Linked DNA regions of Homo sapiens: region 2 is linked to region 1. Evidence: promoter capture Hi-C in human tissues and cell types (Jung and others, 2019). All regions are on one chromosome and are shown on one strand. Each heading gives the region's core, a stretch centred on a gene start or on the middle of the fragment in contact. The rest is flanking DNA. Distances are from core to core; before and after follow the strand shown.

The links. Contacts are between HindIII fragments. The study calls those that stand out against the background at their distance.
Region 2: a contact is called between a fragment that was not itself captured here and the fragment with the promoter of CLPX in region 1, in 1 of the 25 tissues and cell types used here (dorsolateral prefrontal cortex).

The regions. Positions count from the first base shown.
Region 1 is chr15:65,180,618-65,187,579 of GRCh38, reverse strand. CLPX (caseinolytic mitochondrial matrix peptidase chaperone subunit X) reads left to right here and starts at 2,238. Exons shown (of 14, transcript NM_006660.5): 1 at 2,238-2,505. The coding sequence starts at 2,427. RefSeq lists a silencer at 1,990-2,299 and an enhancer at 1,721-2,605. The HindIII fragment of the contact is 6,593 bases long and covers 760-6,962 here.
Region 2 is chr15:65,794,475-65,801,471 of GRCh38, reverse strand. All of the region lies in intron 1 of LOC105370866 (a long non-coding RNA gene), which reads right to left. Among named protein-coding and RNA genes, the nearest start is that of DENND4A, 5.7 kb to the right of the region's middle. The HindIII fragment of the contact is 3,881 bases long and covers 17-3,897 here.

The sequences.
Region 1 (6,962 bases), core at 989-3,488:
TTTCAATAGGCCTGTTTCCTCATCTAAAAAAATCAGGGTTAATATTGAGTGAGTTAAGACTCATGGACTCTAATTTATTAAAATATTTCTTATAGCAACTCATAATGCTGGGAGGTAAAATCAAGTATAAAAGAAAAAGAGGGCCTGCATGGTGGCTCACACCTGTAATCCCAACACTTTGGGAGGCCAAGGCAGGCGGATCATGAGGTCAATAGATCAAAACCATCCTGGCCAACATGGTGAAACCCCGTCTCTACTAAAAATACAAAAACTAGCTGGGCGTGGTGGTGTGCGCCTGTAGTCCCAGCTACTCAGGAGGCTGAGGTAGGAGAATCGCTTGAACCGAGGAGCCAGAGGTTACAGTGAGCCAGGATCGCACCACTGCGCTCCAGCCTGGCCACAGAGTGAGACTCCATCTCAAAAAAAAAAAAAAAAAAAAGACAAAAGAAAAAGTTTTACATAAAATGAAGACATAAAAAGTTATGTGCCTGACTGGGTGCAATGGCTCATGCCTGTAATCCCAGCACTTTGGGAGGCTGAGGCAGGCGGATCACTTGAGGTCAGGGGTTTGAAACTAACACGGCCAACATAGTGAAACTCTGCCTCTACTAAAAATACAAAAATTAACCGGGCATGGTGACGCATGCCTGTAATCCCAGCTACTCAGGAGGCTGAGGCAGGAGAATCACTTGAACCCAGGAGGCAGAGGTTGCAGTGAGCTGAGATGGTGCCACTGCACTTCAGCCTGGGTGACAGATGGAGACTCTGTCTCAAAAAAAAAGTTATGTGCCTTCAGCTATGTAGTTCGCAAAAAGTAAATAACTCAAGGAGTTAACTCCTCCAGTGTAAACTATTTGAGCTGGAAAACTGCACTTGACTTTCTTTTTAAAGCGTCATTAATCTGTCAGAAAACAGCTGAAAGTAGGTGTGATGTGGAAGGGCTGATGTGACCACAAGTATTTGCCATCACTTTCCTGGTGAAGGATCCATTTTCTCACAGGGATAATCTCAGATGGCTCTGGGTTTTTTTTTTTTTTTTTTGAGACGGAGTCTCGCTCTGTCGCCCAGGCTGGAGTGCAATGGCACGATATCGGCTCACTGCAACCTTCGCCTCCTGGGTTCAAGCAATTCTCCCACCTCAGCCTCCTGAGTAGCTGGGATTACAGGAGTACGCCACCACACCTACCTAATTTTTGTATTTTTAGTAGAGATGGGGTTTCACCATGTGGGTCAGGCTGGTCGCAAACTCCTGACCTCGTGATCCACCTGCCTCGGCCTCCCAAAGTGCTGGGATTACAGGTGTGAGCCACCACGCCCAGCCGGCTCTGTGCTTTTGAATTCATAACTTGAGAGGATGGCCTGATAGGAACCTGACCAGAGGTTATCTATGCAGTGCCATCCTTAATCACGGCCGGGTGCGGTGGCTCACGCCTGTAATCCCAGCACTTTGGGAGGGCGAGGCGAGAGGATCACTTGAGCCCAGGAGTTTGAGACCAGCCTGGGCAACATAGGGAGACCTCATCTTTACTAAATTAAAAAAAAGAAAGAAAGAAAAGAAAACCCTCAAGACTTTAAAGCACCCACGGACTAGCAACAGCTAGAAGCTTTATCACCACGAGGCCTGAAAGAACAAGGAGACGGAGCTGTTACCAACTAACAATTGCTGCTCAGGGAACTAACTGACAATACCAACTCCATGTTACAAGTGATGAAACTAAGGAGAATGAGAAGATAAGGAACACAGGATGTGGAATTCCGGGGGAAGAAATTTAGTGAATCTGAAGCATCCAGCGCCTACCAAGGCACTTTAGAGACTTCCCCCTGGAGGGTTAAGCCACCAGCCTCACCTTGACCTTCCCTGCCGCCCACTAAAAGTGACCGGAAGAGCTCGACTATGACGACTCGGGACTACAAGTCCCGGCATGCATCTCTCCGCGTCTATCGCAAAACCTTTCAACTTTAGGATAAAAGGGCTTTTGGCAACCTTGAGCGTCGGGACCTGTAGTCGCCCCAGTTGGGGCTAGACGCTTGCCGTAGGGAACTCATTGGCGCCCAGGGCACCACCCCCTCGCCTTCGCCTCACGTAGCTTCACCAGCTCGCAAACACGGCGCGTGCCCACGCCCTCCGCCCCCTCCCCGGGCCTAGGGCGCAGGCGCGCGCAAGCTCCCCGGGCCCAGTAGGCTGGGGGTGGGGGTAGAAGGAGAAGGAGGGGAAGGGAGGGGGGGGTTGGGTGTCTACTCTGGTGAATAGACGGCTGTGGGGCAGAGAAGCGTGAAGGCCTGGCTGCCGGGCAGGTGAACTCTCCACGGGGTCTAGGGCCCGCGAAAGGGTTCGGAACCGAGTCAGCGCGCCTTGCGGGCAGGATTCACGCCGCTGTGACCCGGAGGTCCTCAGGGGGCGAAGCCCCGGCCTAGGCCTCGCGGAGATGCCCAGCTGCGGTGCTTGTACTTGCGGCGCGGCGGCCGTCCGGCTCATCACCTCCTCACTCGCCTCCGCGCAGAGAGGTAACGAAATAGTGCCACTCCTGAGCCCTCAGCCTGTCGGGGGGGGGGTGGACTGGCCAATGGTTGGGGGCCCCGGGGAGGGCACGAGGCCTGCTGCACCCGGGGAGTGTGAGGGAATGCGCGGCGCTTCGCCCGGCACCCACCACTTTCCCCGTGGAATGGGGCTCTGCCAACCTCTGGAGCAGCCGTTGCTCAAATTGGAAGTAAACTCCTTCCCACGCGCCTGCCTGCACGCTTTCAGGCCTGCTGACTTTGGGGCCGGAATGCGGCCACTTTGTAGAAACCCTGAAAGGCACAAAATGCTCCTGTTATTAAAAAATGTCTCCAGATCCCACTCAGCCCTGCCGGGGACCGCCGCCTGCCATGGCTGCGGCTCTTCTTCCGCAGCCTGGCCGGGATCCCCCTCGGGCCCGTTGGGGGCTCCAGGAGGGGCTCGGCTGAGGATCTGTCCCTACTAGGGTCCCCCAGGACTCGGGGCACCCAGCTGGCCGTCCCGGACGCAAGCCGCGCGATACCCGAGATGTTACTATCACTGTGCGGCCCTGACACTGGGACATAAACAAGGTTCACAATACTTCCCGGCGTCAGGCAAGCCCCGGGGCCCGCAGGACAGCGGCGGGAGAGATGGGGAGAAGTCCCGCAGGAGTTGGTTCGGAAGTACTTGGGTGTTTCAGCAGTCCTTTGCTGGCTTTCCCAACTTGACCGGGAGGTAGTTTCCTAAGAGTGGCGCATGTTGTTTACCTTTTCTTTCTGTTTATCTGAAGCTGTGAAAGAATGGCGCCCCAGCCAAGAGAGTCTGGAAAATAAACTTTTTTTCTCTTCCTCAAATCTGTGGAAGTCAGACCACGAGGCTAGATCCTGTTATAATGACTGACTTCTAGACAAATTCGTTTTATTTTGGCTTATCGGTTTATGACCCTTGGATGGATTTTTAAAAAGGCCCCTTTTATCTAACTTCTAAGCCAATTATAAAATCCTTATTGTTTACTAAATATATCTTCCAGTTTCTTTACTACAGAAGGAAGGATTGAATGAGGTAACGTGGGCAGAAGCATTTTGTAAAATGATATATAAATGTAAGGGAGTAAATTTAATCCTAAATCGATGTTAAGCCTCAACCAGTAGATGTCCCGATTCCAGGAATTCGATTTGCAAACACTTTAAAGTGACATATTTTAATCCATTTATCTGATATATATTAATATTTGTCAAGGGTCCACTGTGTGTCAGGCCTTCTTTTAGTGCTGGAGGTAGAGTGGTGAATAAGTCCTCACCCTCATGTTTAAATCTAGTGGAGTAGACAAAGAATAATACAGTTTCCAGTGGGTGGATGAAGTATGTGTGTGTTCCCTTTGGTCAGGGACGGCTTCTTTGAAAGTGTTACTGATCTCTTGTAGCCAAGAGTCCGTGAACATTTTTGAATCATAGGAGATAGGCAGTTATTTTTTTTTCTTTTCAAAACGACTGTTTTCTTTCTTTTTCTTTTCTTTTCTCCTTCCTTCCTTCCTTCCTTTCCTTCCTTCCTGTCTTTCTTTCCTTTCTGTCTTTCTTTCCATCTACTATCTGTCTTTCTGTCTGTCTTATTTTCTTTCTTTTTTTTTTTTTTTTTTTTTTGAGACAGAGTCTCGCTCTGTCGCTCAGGCTGGAGTGCAGTGGCCAGATCTCAGTTTACTGCAAACTCCGCCTCCTGGGTTCACGCCATTCTCCTGCCTCAGCCTCCCGAGTAGCTGGGACTGCAGGCGCCCGCCACCACGCCTGGCTAATTTTTGTATTTTTAGTAGAGACGGGGTTTCACCGTGTTAGCCAGGATGGTCTCGATCTCCTGATCTTGTGATCCGTCCGCCTCGGCCTCCCAAAGTGCTGGGATTACAGGCGTGAGCCACCGCGCCTGGCCTCTTTTTGTGTGTCTGTCTTGATGGAATCTGCTAAGTTGCCCGGGCTGGAGTGCAGTAGCGCGATCTCGGCTCACTGCAACCTCCGTCTCCTGGGTTCAAGCAATTCTTCTGCCTCAGCCTCCTGAGTAAGCTGGGGTTACAGGCGCGCGCCACCACGCCCCACTAATTTTTATATTTTTAGTAGAGACGGGATTTTGCCATGTTCGTCAGGCTGGACTCCAACTCCTGGACCCCAGGAGATCACCCGCCTTGGCCTCCCAAAGTGCTAGGATTACAGGCTTGAGCCACCGCACCCGGACTAGTATTTCTTTTTAAAAACAGTTGTTCTGAAATTTAGAAAGCTTTGTCTGTATGATAAAGTTCTGTAAATAGTGAAACTTAAATTGTCTTTTCTGGTTGCTGCCAGGTAATCTGGTGAAATATACTTTACAGAAACACTTCTCTTTTTTGGCTTTCAGAGCTTCACCTGGGGTTTACAGGCCTCCAAAGGGTCCTTGAATAGAATTCAGAGATTCTGTGAACTTTATTTTCACTAAGCTCTAACTGAAACACAACGTTTCCTTGGCCTATGAATGTGGGCAACACATCCACAGTAGTCTTAGAAGTGTCTGTGGATTTGTCATCAATCAAAATCAGAAATATTTTCATATCACATTATAGTTGCTGATATTTCAGAATATTGTCCATACTTTTTGCTACTTTGAAATCATAGTAATTATTTAAAAAGCTGTTAGATCTTATTTAATTTTGCTTGTTAATAAAGAGGCATATTTTAAAAATTTTTTGATAACTACTTCATTATAATTTGTTTCCTTTGTTATGTATTTTATTTTATACATTTAAAAATATTATTCTGAGAAGATCTATTCAGAGGCTTCACCAGACTGCTTAAGGGGTTCATGGCACAAAAAGTGTTAGAAATCCCAATTACTTTGCTACAGAGCTTTATCATTTTTATGAGGATTTTATGATTGGTGAATGGTCATTTTGATTGATTGCATCTGTCACTCTCCCTCAATTACTTTTTCTTTTTCTTTCTTTCTTTCTTTTTTTTTTTTTTTGAGACGGAGACTCTGTTGCTTAAGCTGGAGTGCAGTGGTGCCATCTCGGTTCACTGCAACCTCTGCTTCCTGGGTTCAAGCGATTCTTCTGCCTCAGCATCCCGGGTAGCTGAGACTACAGGCGCGTGTCACCATGCCCAGCTAATTTTTTGTATTTTTAGTAGAGATGGGGTTGCACCGTATTAGCCAGGATGGTCTCGATCTCCTGACCTTATGATCTGCCCCCCTGGGCCTCCCAAAGTGCTGGGATTACTGGCATGAGTCACTGCACCTGGCCCCCTCAATTACTTTTTCTAAGCCTACTTTTGGGATTGATACTATCTTTATTTATTTATTTATTTATTTATTTATTTATTTATTTATTTATTTTGCGACAGAGCCTCGCTCCGTTGCACAGGCTGGAGTACAGTGGCGCAATCTCGGCTCACTGCAACCTCTGCCTCGTTCAAGTGATTCCCCTGCCTCAGCTTCCCAAGTAGCTGGGATTACAGGCACCTGTCACCACGCCTGGCTACTTTTTGTATCTTTAGTAGAGACAGGGTTTCACCATGTTGGCCAGGCTGGTCTTAAACTCCTAACCTCAAGTGATCCACCCACCTCAACCTCCCAAAGTGCTGGGATTACAGGCGTGAGCCATCACACCTGGCTCCTTCAATTTTTTTATTGTGGTAAGATACATATAAAATTTACAAGACTTAACTATTTTTAGTGTATAGTTCGGTAGTATTAAGTACATTGATACTGTGCAACCATTGCCATCATCTTGTGAAACTGAAGCTCTGTACCCATTACAACAATAACTCTCCATTTTCCCCAACCCCCAGGAACCGCCATTCTACTCACTGACTCTATGATTTTGCCTTCTAAGTACCACGTGTAAGTGGAATAACACAATTTTTTAAAGAACTTTTTTTTTTTTTGAGACAGAGTCTCCCTCTGTTGCCCAGGCTGGAGTGCAGTGGCATGATCTTGGCTCACTGCAACCTCTGCCTCCTGGGTTCAAGCAATTCGCCTGCCTCAGCCTCCTGAGTAGCTGGGATTACAGACGCCTGCTAGCACACCCAGCTAATTTTTGTATTTTTAGTAGAGACAGGGTTTCACCACGTTGGCCAGGCTGGTCTCGAACCCTGGGATTACAGGCATGAGCCACCGCGCCTGACCTTAAAGAACATTTGAAGTTTGTTTCCATTGTTACAGATTTTTTTTTTTTTTTTTGAGATGGAGTCTCGCTATGTCACCCAGGCTGGAGTGCGGTGGCACGACTTCAGTTCGCTGCAAACTTCGCCTCCCGGGTTCAAGCGATTTTCCTGCCTCAGCCTCCCGAGTAGCTGGGATTAAAGGCGCCCACCACCATGCGTGGCCAATTTTTTTTTATTTTTAGTAGAGACGGGGTTTCACCATGTTGGCCAGGCTGGTTTTGAACTCCTGACCTCTAGTGATCCACCCGCCTAGGCCTCCCAAAATGCTAGGATTACAGGGGTGAGCCACCACACCCGGCCCA
Region 2 (6,997 bases), core at 708-3,207, 610 kb before region 1:
TATTCAAATTCTTTGAATTCCTCAGTTCTGAGAACTGGGGTGGGCATTATCGATTTTTCCCAAAACTTTCATCTGTAACTATTTCCAATAGACTCTAATCCCCAAATGTGCTGGTTTCCACTTCCCTGTTGCTTTGGAAAACTCTATATAACATCAGTTAGAGTCTATTTTGCATTTGGTAGTTCCTTATAAACAGTTTCACTGTGTTCTCTAGGTATGAATATTTGTTTTACATTGATTGTTTTTAGACATAGGACTTACTAACATTCTAAAATTCTGCTTTTTCTTAAATATGTGCCTTAGTTGAAGTACTAATAAAGCTTCTATATTAGATTTTGTAGTTCATAGTAAATTTACATAGGCAATGTGTTAGACTTTGCATACGTTTTGTAGAAAAATAAAACCAAACCTAAGTAAGTAAAATAAAGGGTCAACTAAACAATCCAGCAGCAAACTCTCCTAAAGCTGCAACCACTTCTTACCCTAAATTATAGTTTCACTACTGGCCATACTTTCATTCTGCTTACTTTTTTTAGTTTCTTCCTTAGATCTATTCCTTACGTATATTTACAGATTGCAACACTAACCTCTACTGACTTTCTCCTTCTAATGCAACTTGGCCAGTTTCACTGAACTCTTTTTTTCTTTCTTTCTTTTTTTCTTTTCCGTTTTTTAGATGGAGTCTTACTCTGTCGCCCAGGCTGGAGTGCAGTGGCACGATCTTGGCTCACTGCAACCTCCGCTTCCCAGGTTCAAGCGATTCTCCTGCCTCAGCCTCCTGAGTAGCTGGGATTATAGGGGCACACCACCACGCCGGCTAATTTTTGTATTTTTAGTAGGCACAAGGTTTCACCATGTTGGCCAGGATGGTCTTGATCTCCTGACCTCATGATCCACGCGCCTTGGCCTCCCACAGTGTTGGGATTACAGATGTGAGCCACCGCACCCAGCTGGATGGGGTAATATATTAACAGTAAAGAATCTGAATGAAGCCCATCCTTAGGTGAAAGTTTACAAATATTCCTAATGTTGTAGTATACCAAGACTTACTTCTTGCTAGCTATCAACCACCAAAAAACATGCATTTCCCTAATAATTAGGTAATGTTCAATATTCAGTCGTGCAAAATAGAAATCTAGTCTTACAAAATAAATAGTCTTGTAATCTTTCCTGACAACTAGCAGAGTGCATTGTATATAACAGTACAAAGATTGAGGGAATGAATTCTATGCCTAGGCACATGGCATTTAAGATTTTACTTTTTAAAAATCCACAAGGCAGTGTGGTTTGGTAGAAGCCTATTGGCCCAGGGATTGTAAGGCGTCTAGCCATGTGATTTGGGAAAACTCATTACGCCTTTCTGAGCTTTAGTTTCTTCATCTCCAAAATAGGATTTTCCTATGTATCCAGTGTATTTCATGGGGAGTTTGGAATGCTGAATTCCAAGAACCGATTGATATTTATGTAAAAGACAAACTAAAAAACTAGGAATCTAGGAATCTGGATTCTAGTCCTAGCTCTTCTCATGCTTTTGGGTGTACTGTATATGACTTTGGACAAGCCGCAGAGGGAAATGGTCACTTTTTGAAAATGAAATGTTCACTAGATGATCTCTGAGATTCATTCCTGCTAAAAATAATCCTATGTTCTGGATCAGAGAAACATGAAATCAATTTATGAGTGTCATTCTCATGAAGACATTATGATGTAGGTCAGATGATAAACTGTAAATCCATTTTTTAAAAATTGCCTGCCTCACATTAACTTTTTTATAGCCCAATCCATTTAGCCCTACCCTTGTCCAATTGTCCTACATGTTACCTAAACTCTAACCTTGAGATCTTCCTTTGCAACTGATGACCATTTTTATTACCCTTAGTATTTCAACTCCTGGCCCTACCCTTGCAGCAAACAGGGCCTTACTTTATGTGATCATCAGAATTTGAAATGGAAGAATATGTTTCTTGTCTCTTTTCATAATGCCACTAATTCCCCATTCCCTTTTAGCATACAGCTAGTTAAAAATGAATTGTATTATTAGGGAGACTGAGGCAGGAGGATCACTTGAGCCCAGGAGTTTGAGACCAGCCTGTGCAACATAGTGAGACCTTGTCTCAAAACCAACAAATAAAAACCAAAAAAAAAAAAAAAACCCAAAAAACAAAAAAAATGAGCTGTATAATTATATCCTCTCTTTAGCCTGACATCAAGGGTTCTGTGGATCTCTTTTCTTCAACTGTACCATCCATTACCTTCCAGAGAGAACTGCACAGGTAGGGAGCAGTTTGCACCCCCTGATTGTGCCATCTTCAAAAGCCTTTCTTTCGGCCAGGTGTGGTGGCTCACAACTGTAATCCTAGCACTTTGGGAGACCGAGGTGAGTGAATCATCTAAGGTCAGGAGTTTGAGGCCAGCCTGACCAGCATGGTGAAACCTCGTCTCCACTAAAAATACAAAAATTAGCTGGGCGTGGTGGCGCATGCCTGTAATCCCAGCTACTTGGGAGGCTGAGGCAAGAGAATCGTTTGAACCCCAGAGGCAGATGTTGCAGTGAGCCAAGATCGTGCCATTGCACTCCAGCTGGGGCAACAATAGCAAAATGCCATCTCAACAAAGTAAAAAAATTTTAAAGAAAATAAAATAAAAGCCTTTCTTCCATTTCAGATCTAATATAGTCAAGTAAAAGCCTCATCTCAATTCGACTTCCTTCTGTTTCTCTTTTAGCATAATTTTAAACTATGTAAGTTATTATGACATAAATCTAATACATCAATGTTTATTAAAATTAAATCTGCCGTTAAGATAATTACAACCAGATATGAATACTTGCAGGGTTATGAATGGGAAATGTAGAGGAAGGCTTTCCATTTCTAGGAGATAATAAAGTGATGCTGACACTAGAGAGCCCAAAATAGCTTTGGGGGATTATTTAATTAACAAGGTAACCACCTTACAAGAGGCTTTAGAAATCTTTTTTGTTTTAAATTTAAATGTTTATTATTAAAAGTCTATTGTTCTCCAAATCTTGAATAAGCTAATAGTTAAGAGTTTCTCCCTTCTGGACTAACTTTGCCCTTGATTTGGCGCACCTGATATAACTAACTGATCAATTTCTTTGTCTGCAGGCACATACGTAGGAAAGAACAAGATGCTTTTAGGGGCGGCAGCAGCTTAAATGCTTTCTCTCAATTAAGAGCCTTGTGTTGACAGTCTGAAAGTGTTCCAAATGAGAGACTATCTCCACCACACTAGAGAGGGGTAGGGGAGAGAGAAGCATAGGCCCTAGTCCCCTGCTCTTCTTAGGTAACATCAGGACTGGACATTGATGAACTTTCCACCAGGAATAGAAAGGAGAGGAGGAAGCTAGGAATCTCCAGTGATGTCTGGAACAACTGATCATGTTTCCTTAGAAAAATCAGCCTGCCAACACAGGGATGGATGAAGAAGGAAAGAGAAGAGATAGAAAATCCAGCTGGGCGTGGTGGCTCACGCCTGTAATCCCAGCACTTTGGGAGGCCGAGGCTGGTGGATCACTTGAGGTCAGGAGTTTGAGATGAGCTCGTTGCCTGGCCAACATGGTGAAGTCCCCTCTCTACTAAAAATGCAAAAATTAGCTGAGCATGGTGGCATGCACCTGTAATCCCAGTTACTCAGGAGGTGTAATCCCAGTTACCTGGGAGGTGGAGGTTGCAGTGAGCCAAGACTGCGCCACTGCACTCCAGCCTGGGCAACAGAAAGAGACTCTATCTCAAAAAAAAAAGAGAGAGAGAGAGATAGGAAATCCAATTAGATGACTACTGCAAAATTTCAGGCTAAAAAACAAACCAAAAGGTGTGGGTTTGAACTAGGTCAGTGGGAATGGGGATGAAGTGAGGGAGGATACTACTGATGTTAAGGAGATGACAACAATTCTTTTTCAAGATTAATTAGGTGTCAATGAATGAGGGAAAAAGAGGAGTTGATGACTCAGGTTTTGACTTTTTTTTTTTTTTTTTTTTTTTTTTTTTTGAGATGGAGTCTGTCTCCCAGGCTGGAGTGCAGTGGCATGATCTTGGCTCACTGTAACCTCCGCCACCTGGGTTCTAGTGATTCTCCTGACTCAGCCTCCAGAGTAGCTGGGACTACAGGTGCATGCCCAGCTAATTTTTGTATTTTCGGTAGAGACAGGGTTTCACCATGTTGGACAGGCTGGTCTCGAACTCCTAAAAAAAAAAAAATTCAGTCTCCACAGGCGGCTTTAGCTTTTAGGTGCATGGTGAGTTCAACTATAAATTATTCAGGAAATGAGAAATTATAGGAGTAACAGGTTTGGGGTAAAGATAATGACTTCACCTTTAAATGCTGAATTTCAGGTATACTTGGGACTGAGCTATCTGGAGGCAGTTGAATACACAATCCTGAAGTGCAGGAGAGAGGTATGGACTAAAGACGTGTGTGTCTCCTATTCTGAGTGATTATATAGACAGAAAAGAGGAGGGCTTTTTTTAAATTTTTTTTTTAGTTTATTCTCAATTGCAGGTGTTTCCCCTTGCTGGCAGAGTTCCTTTAAGTCTTGACAATAAAAAGGGCATTCTTGTTGTCCACCCTTGTAGGATGCATGTCTGGGCCAATCAATAAAAAGAAAAGACTTGTGGTGTCTGATTTGTTCTGCTTCAGGTTTCCCAAATAGCCTAGCTATAACAACAGTGCTGAGTTCATGAGAAAAGCTGACTCATATTTCCTGCAAGTCAGCACAGATATCCATCCTTCCAAAGAATTTGAACCTCTGGCCACTCCCAAAGACAATCAAAGTATTGCAACAATTTATGAGCATCTCTTTCTTTTGTTAGCTCTATTATAAAGATGCAAAGTAAAAACAAACAAACAAACACACCTTTCCTTCCTTGTACCACCCTCAGCCCCGTTCCCCAAACAACGATGTCCTTATCCTTCAGAGAAAGTCCAGTTTCTCTCAGGGTTGGTCCAAATGCCATCTATTTTGTCTATTTTGTCACCTTCAATTCTCACAATGAGAATTAATCACTCCACTCGCTTGGGCTCCCATAGCAACGAGTTTATCCATCTAGCATAGAATTTGTCATAGTTTGACTTTTACTAAAGTTATATGCCTAGGAAATACTTTTTGCCTCTAATGTGTGCTTATCTGTCATTGCTTTCCTTCTGTGCCTAGTGCAGTGTTTTGTATACAAATGTTTTCTGAAGTGAATTTGTTAAAAGTTATGAAAATATTGTCTACCACTTCAAGAAAGTCAGAGGAGTATACTTCGTGGTCAATGACAGTTAAAATACATATTTTTAAAACAACTCCCCTGCAGATAATTTAAGAAGTAAAAATTCAACTTATAAGGAATTGCTGAAAGAGGTAAAATTGTTAATTTGAGGAAAATGTTGAGAAGTGATCATTTTCAGAAATTTGAAAAAGTGCTGAGTCAAAGATATGACTCCTCAGATGGCTACCAAAACGGCAGAGACAGCAATGGCTCAGACTGCTACAGCTCTCCTGTCCTTGGCCACTCTTCTCAAGCACCAGGTTTAGAATTTATATTTCTTTTTTTTTTTTTTTTTGAGATAGGATCTTGCTCTGTCACCCAGGCCAGAATACTGGGGTGGGATCTTAGCTCATCGCAGCTTTGAACTCCTGGGTTCAAGCAGTCTTCCCAACTCAGCCTCCCAAGTAGCTGGGACTACAGGCATGTGCCACCATGTCTGTTTTTTGTTTGTTTGTTTTTGTTTTTTTTTTGTAGAGATGAGGTCTTGATATGTTGCCCAGGCTGGTTTCAAACTCCTGGGCTCAAGTGATTCTCCCACCTCGGCATCTCAAAGTGCTGGTATTGCAGGCATGAGCCACCATGCCCAGCCAGAATTTCAGAATTTGTCACTTCTAACATGACTTTTCTTACTATTATTCTTGAAAATTGTTCAGATAATTTCTTTTTTCTTTTTTTTTTTTTTTGCAACCTCTGCCTCCTGGGCTCAAGTGATCCTCCCACCTCAGCCTCCCAAGTAGCTGGGACTACAGGCATGCATGCACCACCATCATGGGCTAATTTTTGTATTTTGGTAGAGATGGGGTTTTGCTATGTTGCCCAGGCTGGCAGATAATTTCTTTCAAAAATAATTTCATCAGGTTTGTGTTTTTAAGAAACAAATGGATAATTTGACCACATTGCTAATAAATTTTAGTTTTTGGATTAAATACATTGGAATGTCACTCAAACACTGTTTCACAGTGAATACAATTTGTCAATATGGATTCTGCTTTGTGACACATCTAAATAGTTTCTAATAGGCCATAGATCCCTGGTAGTTTTTCTCACCCATAAGGAAGCCCTGTAGCATAGCTATCAAGGACTGCTTTATGGGCCGGGTGTGGTGGCTCATGGCTGTAACCCCAACACTTTGAGAGACTGAGGAGAGCGGATCACCTGAGGTCAGGAGTTCGAGACCAGCCTGGCCAACATGGTGAAACCCCCATCTCTGCTAAAAATACAAAAATTAGCCAGGCGTAGTGGAGGGCGCCTATAATCCCAGCTACCCGGGAAGCAGGAGAATCGCTTGAACCCAGAAGGTAGAGGTTGCAGTGCGCCAAGATCACGCCACTGCACTCCAGCCTGGGCGACAGAGCAAGACTCTGTCTTAAAAAAAAAGGATTGCTCTCTAGAGGCTCCAGGTTTTCATTTAAAGATGTGAGAAACTTCTGGTATAGCAATTAAGGTGCATAGATTCAACAGGTGGAGAGGATTAGGCTGTACAACAGCTTGCGCTTCCATTGCTTTAAATGGTTATTGGTTTCATAGTTTTCCTTCATGCATCATTCAAATCACAGCATTTTAAAATAACTTCTAAGAAATAGCCGGATACAGTTCAACATATAAAATATGACAATTTCAGAAATGGCATGGGGCCAAAATTTATTATCCAAAAAATTCTATTTGGCTCATGTCTACATTGTTAGAATCCCTTGCCCAAATCACATCTAGGGTTTAGGTTTAACTGT